3 separate regions of the Homo sapiens genome follow, and regions 1 and 3 are each linked to region 2. Evidence: promoter capture Hi-C in human tissues and cell types (Jung and others, 2019). All regions are on one chromosome and are shown on one strand. Each heading gives the region's core, a stretch centred on a gene start or on the middle of the fragment in contact. The rest is flanking DNA. Distances are from core to core; before and after follow the strand shown. Region 1 overlaps SPNS2-AS1 (SPNS2 antisense RNA 1). Region 2 holds the start of C17orf107 (chromosome 17 open reading frame 107). Region 3 holds the start of SMTNL2 (smoothelin like 2).

What was found. The method cuts DNA at HindIII sites, captures the fragments that hold promoters and counts their contacts. A contact is called where the count stands out against the background at its distance.
Region 1: a fragment that was not itself captured here is called in contact with the fragment with the promoter of C17orf107 in region 2 in 1 of the 25 tissues and cell types used here (lymphoblastoid cells).
Region 3: a contact is called between the fragment with the promoter of SMTNL2 here and the fragment with the promoter of C17orf107 in region 2, in 2 of the 25 tissues and cell types used here (lymphoblastoid cells and spleen).

What each region holds. Positions count from the first base shown.
Region 1 is chr17:4,493,362-4,496,373 of GRCh38, reverse strand. The region is part of intron 2 of SPNS2-AS1 (SPNS2 antisense RNA 1); the gene reads left to right. Among named protein-coding and RNA genes, the nearest start is that of SPNS2-AS1, 3.9 kb to the left of the region's middle. The HindIII fragment of the contact is 5,950 bases long and covers 1-3,012 here.
Region 2 is chr17:4,898,286-4,900,785 of GRCh38, reverse strand. C17orf107 (chromosome 17 open reading frame 107) reads right to left here and starts at 1,250. Exons shown (of 3, transcript NM_001145536.2): 1 at 958-1,250; 2 at 641-850; 3 at 1-549. The coding sequence starts at 1,023. The coding sequence ends at 253. CHRNE (cholinergic receptor nicotinic epsilon subunit) reads left to right here. Exons shown (of 12, transcript NM_000080.4): 9 at 1,204-1,318; 10 at 1,402-1,588; 11 at 1,679-1,785; 12 at 1,895-2,500. The coding sequence ends at 2,050. RefSeq lists an enhancer at 864-1,173 and silencers at 1,374-1,483, 1,504-1,653. The HindIII fragment of the contact is 33,281 bases long and covers 1-2,500 here.
Region 3 is chr17:4,583,071-4,585,864 of GRCh38, reverse strand. It overlaps SMTNL2 (smoothelin like 2), which reads right to left and starts at 1,336. Exons shown (of 8, transcript NM_001114974.2): 1 at 861-1,336. The coding sequence starts at 1,259. RefSeq lists enhancers at 1-357, 978-1,597, 1,598-2,217. The HindIII fragment of the contact is 15,336 bases long and covers 1-2,794 here.

The DNA.
Region 1 (3,012 bases), core at 241-2,740, 400 kb after region 2:
TGGCTCATACCTGTAATGCCAGCACTTTGGGAGGCCGAGGTGGGTGGATCACCTGAGGTCAGGAGTTCGAGACCAGCCTGGCCAACATGGTGAAACCCGGTCTCTACTAAAAATACAAAAATTAGCCAGGCGTGGTGGGGCGCGCCTGTAATCCCAGCTACTTAGGAGGCTGAGGCAGGAGAATTGCTTGAACTTGGGAGGCAGAGGTTGCAGTGAGCCAAGATCATGCCACTGCACTCCAGCCTCGGTGACAGAGTGAGACTCCATCTCAAAAACAAAAACAAAAACAAAAAACAAAAGTGGGGGGAAAAAAAGAAAAGAACACACACAAAAAAGAAAAAAATGGGGCACAGAACATTAATGGCCATTATTCAAAGAGCAGTCATACTTGGGAAGTAGTGGGATAAACACAGAAAAGTAGGTTTCCTTAGGGACTTTTGAGAGCCTTTACTATGAGAATACATGCTCTGAGTCTCCCAGAGGGAGATATAGGATGCCACGTTCCCAGGTGTGTGTGACCACAGAATGTCTTGCAAGACGAGAGCTCTGCAGGACACACTCTGAGAAACACTGGCCTAGAATGCACTTGCTCCTCCTTGGCTGGTAATTGGGAGCTCAGCCCATCTGCCCTCTGCCCATCCTCCCACATGGGAGTGTCTCCAGGGCTCAGGCCTCGGTTGTTTCCCTTCCCCCTTGGCAGCCTCTCACCTAGGCCTGAAATTTACTTTTTTTGAAAAAATTTTTAAGAGGCAGGGTCTCTCTCTGTCACCCAGGCTGGAACGCAGTGGTGCAATCATAGCTCATCATAACTTTGACCTCTTGGGCTCAAGGGATCCTCCTTAAGAAGGGGCTTCCTGATGCTGGGCGCGGTGGCTCATGCCTGTAATCCCAGCACTTTGGGAGGCCAAGGCGAGCAGATCACTTGAGGTCAGGAATTCAAGATCAGCCTAGCCAACATGGAGAAACCCCATCTCTAGTGAAAACACAAAAATTAGCTGGGTGTGGTGGCATGCGCCTGTCATCCCAGCTACTTGGGAGGAGAATTGCTTGAACCCAGGAGGCGGAGGTTGTAGTGAGCCGAGATCACACCACTGCACTCCAGCGTGGGTGACAGAGTGAGACTCTGTCTCAAAACAACAACAACAACAAAAAACAAAAAAACAAAAAACAAAAAAAAGAGAGCCAAGACAGACAGGAGCAAAGACAGAGAAACGGAGACTTTCATATTCCAGCCTGGGTGACAGAGCAAGACTCCATCTCAGGAAGAAAAAAATAATAATAAAAAATAAAAATATATATATAAAAAAGAAGAGTCTTCCTCTCCTGAGGATCCACACCTCAGCTTCCCAAAAGGCTGGGACTATAAGCGTGCACCACCACACCCAGCAATTTTTTTTTTAGGAAAAAGGTCTCACTATGTTGACCAGGCTGGTCTCAAACTCTAGGGCTCAAGTGATCCTCCCACCTCAGCCTACCAAAATGCTGGGGTTAGAGGGGTGAGCACCATGTGCAGCTGTGGCCTCAACTTTCAATGATCATCCATGTGACTATGACACCCCAACCTCCATCTCTAGACAGGGCCTCATCTCCAAACACGAGATCCATATGCAGCCTCCTACACGTGCCCCCCACCAGATATCCCACATGTACCTTAGGCTCAGCACATTTGAAACTGAACTTGTCATCCTTCCCCCAACCTGCTCCCACTCTGGTATCATTTATCTTTTGTCAAAAACACCATCATCCACACTGTCGCCAAGCAGAAAGCCTGGGAGCCATGTGGGGCTCCTTCTCCTCAACAGCCACATCTAAGGGCTTTCAATTTCCTCTCTTGAACATCTCCCCACGTCCACATTGCCCACTGGCTTAGCTCAGGCCTCTCTGTGTCTTACCTGGACCCTTGTAAAGCTCAACATTACCTGTTCCCACATCCCCCTCCAGTTTTGTTTGTTTGTTTTTTGAGACGGAGTCCTGCTCTGTCACCCAGGCTGGAGTGCAATGGCACAATCTCGGCTCACTGCAACCTCTGCCTCCTGGGTTCAAGCAATTCTCCTGCCTCAGCCTCCTGAGTAGCTGGGATTACAGGTGTGCACCACCATGCCCGGCTAATTTTTTTTATTTTTAGTAGAGACGGGGTTTCATCATGTTGGCCAGGCTGGTCTCGAACTCCTGGCCTCAAGTGATCCACCCACCTTGGCATCCCAAAGTGCTGGGATTACAGGCGTGAGCCACTGTGCTCGGCCGGCCCTCCAGTCGTTTCTCCATATTGCTTATCAGTCACTTTCTGAATCCCACAAAGGACCTCATCACTACCTTGAGCAAAACCTTTCTAAGGCTCTTCACTGGCTATAGGGTTAAAAATGTCTACGTTCCTGGCCGGGCGCAGTGACTCACGCCTGTAATCCCAGCACTTCGGGAAGCCGAGGCGGGCGGATCACGAGGTCAGGAGATCGAGACAATCCTGGCTAACATGGTGAAACCCTGTCTCTACTAAAAAATACAAAAAATTAGCTGGGCGTGGTGGTGGGCGCCTGTTGTCCCATCTACTCGGGAGGCTGAGGCAGGAGAATGGCGTGAACCCAGGAGGCGGAGCTTGCAGTGAGCCGAGATCGCGCCACTGCACTCCAGTCTGGGTGACAGAGCGAGACTCTGTTTCAAAAAAAAAAACTACATTCCTTAATGATCTCCAAGAGCCTTCACAACTTTTCACAACCCATGACAATCTCCAGCCTCAGATCCTACGGCCCATCTCTCAAAATTACCCTCTGCCACACTGAACATGGAGCTTCTTGAACTCACAGTTATAATACTTCCTGGAGCCTGGGGGAGGGGCAAGAATTGGGGCACTATTCTATAGCCCCTGTCCTCCTATCAACAAAAAAGCCCTTGTCCCACTAGCACAGCGATGATTCAGGACCATGGAGAGCATCCCGCGTGCAACCCCTGACCCCGACCCTGACTGAGGCATGCTCTGCCTGTGTGGCCTATTCACTCTTCCCACTTGTCCTTCAG
Region 2 (2,500 bases), core at 1-2,500:
CGGAGCCCCCGCGGGGGTGTGGCCAGTGTGAAGGGTGGGGGCGTGGCCAAAACCCAGAGACCCCGGGAAAAGCTCTGGCTGTCTCGCCCCGCCCTGGGCTTTATTCGGACGCTGGGTGGGGCTGGTACGGGGATGGAGTCCCTGGTCCGCCGTCCTCCTCACTGCTGCTGGACGTCACCTGGAGGTCTCCCGAGTAGCTCTCTTGGGGGACAGTCCGGCTCAGTGCCTCCCTAGCCCCGCCGCCTCTGGCCCCTAACTCACCCCGTGTCCTGAGCTCACCGGTTCTCCGGGGATTCCGAGGCCTAGCTGCTGTTGCGACTGTCGCAGGAATGAGGCAGACCCCTGCAGACCCCGTCCACACAGGCATAGCCATGCTCCCTGGACTAGGAGCCGGGCGCTGGCGCCCACCGCAGCCCCAGCTTGCCGAACCCCCTGCCCTGCGGCTTGGGCTACCCGGCTCAGCGCTGCACCCGGATCCCTGCCGTCTGGGGCTGGGCCCGCGCTGCCGTCTAGTCGCCGCGCCTCCTGCTGCAGCCACAGGGCTGAGATCTGCATTGGGGGCACAGGGGTTAGCGGGGAGGCAGAGGTCCTTGTTCCCGCTACCCGATCGCCGCGTATCCTAAGCCCCCCAGTACCCCACCTCTAACAAGGTGGTGCCGAAGCTCACGAGGCTGGCTGTGGCTTCTCTCAACACCAGCCCCAGGGTGGGCTTCGGGGCAGGCAGCATCCCCTGCATCTTCGGTTCGGGTGGCTCCAGGGACTTCAGCTCTCTGAACCTCTGCTCCAGATATTCATGGGCTGCGGCCACGGAGAGTTCCAGGGAAGACAGAAGCGGGGGCTGGAGGGCCACCTGGAGAAGGAGCAGAGCAGTAGAGTAGCAGGGCAGGGGTCACAGGGGCGAACAGGAGACCTACCCAGAAGGTCTCGAGGTGCAGCCCTTGGCGGGCGTAGCCTCACCTCGGTGGAGCTGTGGAAGTGGTAGATCCACATCAGGGTGTCCAGGGAGCTGGGGGTCCCCTTCATGGCCGCCACAAGTGGTAGGACAGGAGAAGGGCTGGGGGACGCGTCTGTCGTCGTGTAGGGGGCGCAGCTGGAGGGCGTAACCAGCCCGTACCAGGAGAAGCCGTGTTTGTGAGGTCAGCGCGCGGCGCCTTCGGTAGCTGGGAGGAGGAACGGTGATGTCATGCCTTCCGGGCTCCTCAGGTTCCTTATTTTCGTCATGGTGGTCGCCACGCTCATTGTCATGAATTGCGTCATCGTGCTCAACGTGTCCCAGCGGACGCCCACCACCCACGCCATGTCCCCGCGGCTGCGCCACGTAAGCGCGGAGGGGGCGGTGCAGCCCGGGTCGGGGTGGGGCTTCGTACTAACCTCGTCCCCTAAGCCCCGCCCCTGCCCCAGGTTCTCCTGGAGCTGCTGCCGCGCCTCCTGGGCTCCCCGCCGCCGCCCGAGGCCCCCCGGGCCGCCTCGCCCCCAAGGCGGGCGTCGTCGGTGGGCTTATTGCTCCGCGCGGAGGAGCTGATACTGAAAAAGCCACGGAGCGAGCTCGTGTTTGAGGGGCAGAGGCACCGGCAGGGGACCTGGACGGGTGAGCACAGTGGCCCTGGCCCGGGGGGCCGCGCGGGGTGCCTGCCAGGGGGGAGGCTCCTAAGGCCCACCCCGGTGTTTTCCCCGCCAGCTGCCTTCTGCCAGAGCCTGGGCGCCGCCGCCCCCGAGGTCCGCTGCTGTGTGGATGCCGTGAACTTCGTGGCCGAGAGCACGAGAGATCAGGAGGCCACCGGCGAGGTGGGACAGGAGCCAGAGGCGGGTGGAGCGAGGCAGAGGCCCACCACTGTCTCCCATGCCGCTGGCTCCTGCAGCTGCCTCTTTACTGACTGTGCCGACCCTTCCCCAGGAAGTGTCCGACTGGGTGCGCATGGGGAATGCCCTTGACAACATCTGCTTCTGGGCCGCTCTGGTGCTCTTCAGCGTGGGCTCCAGCCTCATCTTCCTCGGGGCCTACTTCAACCGAGTGCCTGATCTCCCCTACGCGCCGTGTATCCAGCCTTAGCTCGCACCGACTTCAATTTCCCACCCATCTCCAGTAGGAAATTGATTTTGAAAAAGTAGGCTGCCGCCACCACGGCATTATGATCCCTTCCCCCTGCTGATCAATCTGCAGTTTGTGAACTTCACAAGAATGGTGTGTGCCCGTTCCCTGGCGTGTGTAGGCCTGGCCGCAGTCCAGGGGTCAGCAGGAGGAAAGGGTTCACATAGGCTCTCAGGTGCCAGTCTTCCAGAAAGCAAGGACTGCCCTTCATTCAGCCTTGCTGACCTCCCAGCCTTTCTAAGGCTCAGCCCCACGGGACTCTGGTGGCTGCCAGCTTGTGAGCTATCTATCTATATTCATTTCATAGCCAAACAGGAGACCCCTTTGCAGGACTTGCACACAGGGAGGCTGTAGCCAGGAAACCCTCTTCTTCCCTGGTCTGGCTCTGCTGGAGCGGGTGGGAACCAAACA
Region 3 (2,794 bases), core at 87-2,586, 320 kb after region 2:
CCACAGCGGGAAATCTGAGAGCCCCAGGGATTGCACCAAGGAGGGAGCAGGTGCAGGCTACACAGCCCCAGATCCTGGGAACCCAACCCGAGAGCACATGCCTGATCAGGATGGAAAATCCCACCCAAGGGCCACTGCACACACCATGGACACATTCTAACTGCTCTGGGTGGCCCATGCGCAAGGTAGTGACTGGTCCACGTCGGCCTCCGCCCTATCCCCACGTGGTGTGGGCCTCTGGCTAGTCACTGACCCGAGGAATCTAGACACGGCTCAAGGCGGGTTTCCACCTCTCTCCCTTCACGGTAAGGGATTTACCCCCTGCGATGGAGAGTTCCCAAAAGCCGCTGCTGATCGCGTCCCCCTCGACCCCCCTCCCCACCCATCCAGGGGCCTGAGTTCTCAATCTGAGTTAATCAATAACCAGAGCCGTCAGGCCTCAGTGAAGCGGCAACGCAGGGGAGCGTGAATGGAGGGTGGGGGTCAGGCAGGGGTGTCGACCATTCCAACATGCCCCGCGTGGCTCCAGGCAGTGCTGAACAGTCAGGGGCCGGACTTCGGCGCCCAAGCCGTTGATGTCATGGGACAGAGGAGAGAGGGAGACAGGACTCTGAGCAAACAGAGCCTGGCTCTAAAACAGGGCGGAGGACCAAGACAGGTGCAGCTGGCAGGCTCAGCGGTCCTCCCCCCGCCCTCTCCAACTCCGGAGGGGCGGCAGGACCCCCATCACCTAGTCCGAGCGGCCGGTGAAGGCCCCAACCCCGCAGACGCGAGCAGAGGCAGGCAGTCGGGGCGAAGGGGCGGCACCCGGTTCGGAGCCCCACTCCCTGGCGCCAGCGCACGCGCTCCCCCGGGCTCACCTGGCCGCGGCCGGACAGCGAGAAGGTGGCGTGGCTGGCGAAGCGTGCGCTGCCCAGGCGGGGCGCGCGGTCGGGAACCCCGGGCGCGGGCGGGGGGCTGGGCGTGCCGGGAGTGCCGGGCACCGGGGACATCCCGCTGGCCAAGCCCAGCGCCTCCACCTGGCGCGTCAGGCGCTCGAGCTGCGCCTGCAGCCGCTGGTTGTCCCGCTGCAGGTCGGCCACCGTGCGCGCCAGGGGGCCGGCCAGGCGCATCGCCTCTGCCACTCGCCGCTCCACGCCGCGCTGCAGCCCCCGCATGTCCTCGTGCAGCGCGCGCACCGCACCCTCCAGCGCCGCCTCGTAGCGGCCCAGCGCCTCGCGCACAGTGCGCGCCTCCTGGGCGTCGGGGGCCGGCTCCATGGCCCAGCAGAGCGCGCGGGTCGAGAGCGGGCCAGACGGGGGAGAAGATCCGAGCTCCGCAGCTCCGGGCCGCGACTGGCCGTCCGTGGCTGGCTTCGCTCGAGGGGCTGCCGGGGAGGCGGGCGCGGGGCGGGGCCTCGGGGGCGGAGCCGGGGACGACTCCGGGACACCCCCCTGCCCTGGAGCCCAGCGGGACGGTGCGGAGGGAGAGCTCGCCCAGCCTCTCCCCTCCCCGGCTCTTAACTGAGCCCTGCGACCCCGGAGGAGCGGCGTGCGGCCTGCGGGAGGGGCGGCGGGCCCACCCGAAGAAGGCCCTGGCCCCCCTGGACCGTAGAGAGCACACCCGGGCTGACGCGTTCGCTCGGGACTCTCACCCGCAAGGCCCAGGTTCCTCCGGGGGCGGAGACTCCCGGGCTAATGGGGACACCTACAGCTCCCACAGCTGCCGCCCCACTCCGCGGGGCCCTCCCTATGCAGCGGCCACGGCTCTCGCAGGCACACGCTCACCTGTGGGACCTTCGCCTGGAATTTCTTGTATCTGTTCTAAGACCTCAGGGAGGAGACAGGTGGTGAGGTCCCCTCCCTGACTCTGCGACTACGCGCTGTCCCCTCCCAGTCCTACTCTGTATAGCAAGATCTTCGTGCCCTTCCCACTAGTGGTCGGTAGAGGCTCCCGACCCACCAAGGGGCCTCCGTTAGGAGATCCTGGAGAGGCTAAGGGCAGACAGAGAAAGAAGGGTGTGCTGGAGCTGCATCTCCAAATCCTGGAATGGGCGGCTTTGCGACTAATCGCCCCCTCCCGCAATGAGAGTCTCAGTCACTGGCCTCTACCCGTAGGCCAGGGGTCTTACCCCTATTCCTTCTCAATGCTCTTTATGGCTGAACCCAGATAGTTCCCCCTTCCAAATGCACACCCCAAACCATCACCAGAAAAGGGAAGAAGGGAAACAGGTGTTGCTTTAGGACGATGGGATGATGGGCAAAGCTAACTCTAAGTTTTCGCTATATCATAAAGCTGATTTAAAATAAAAATGAGAACATATCCTCCTTTGTGCAAAAAACCTTTCCTAATTGGCCTTCTTTTTCCCAAGCCTGGCCTGCCTGAAAGAGGCCCAGAGGCTGGGCATGCATAGCCAGCTGACCTGCAGGAAGGAGAAGTCTGAAAGGCTTGTTCATATCATGTTCTGCTCCCAAGGTTGTTTGGAGCCCACAAACCCTCCTGGACTGGCCATCATTGCCCCAAAGGAACTGGAGCAGCCTGACAGATGCTAAATGCTGGTTCTCTCCCCCGCCCCCAGCCCCAAGGGGACAGGAAGGAACGCTGGGTTACCTAATCCAAGGAGCCTTCCAGCAATTATTTCATGAAAAAGGCAAATGCCAAAAGGTGTGCATGCTGCATATATGTGTGAGCATGTGTGTGCATTCCAGGTAGCCATCTGGACAGGGTGAGCCAAACTGCTCCCTGAATGCTTTCTCCAGGTGGAATCTTTAGTAGCAGCCTCCAGAGACGCTGCTGCTGCTCTTGCCGCAGACAG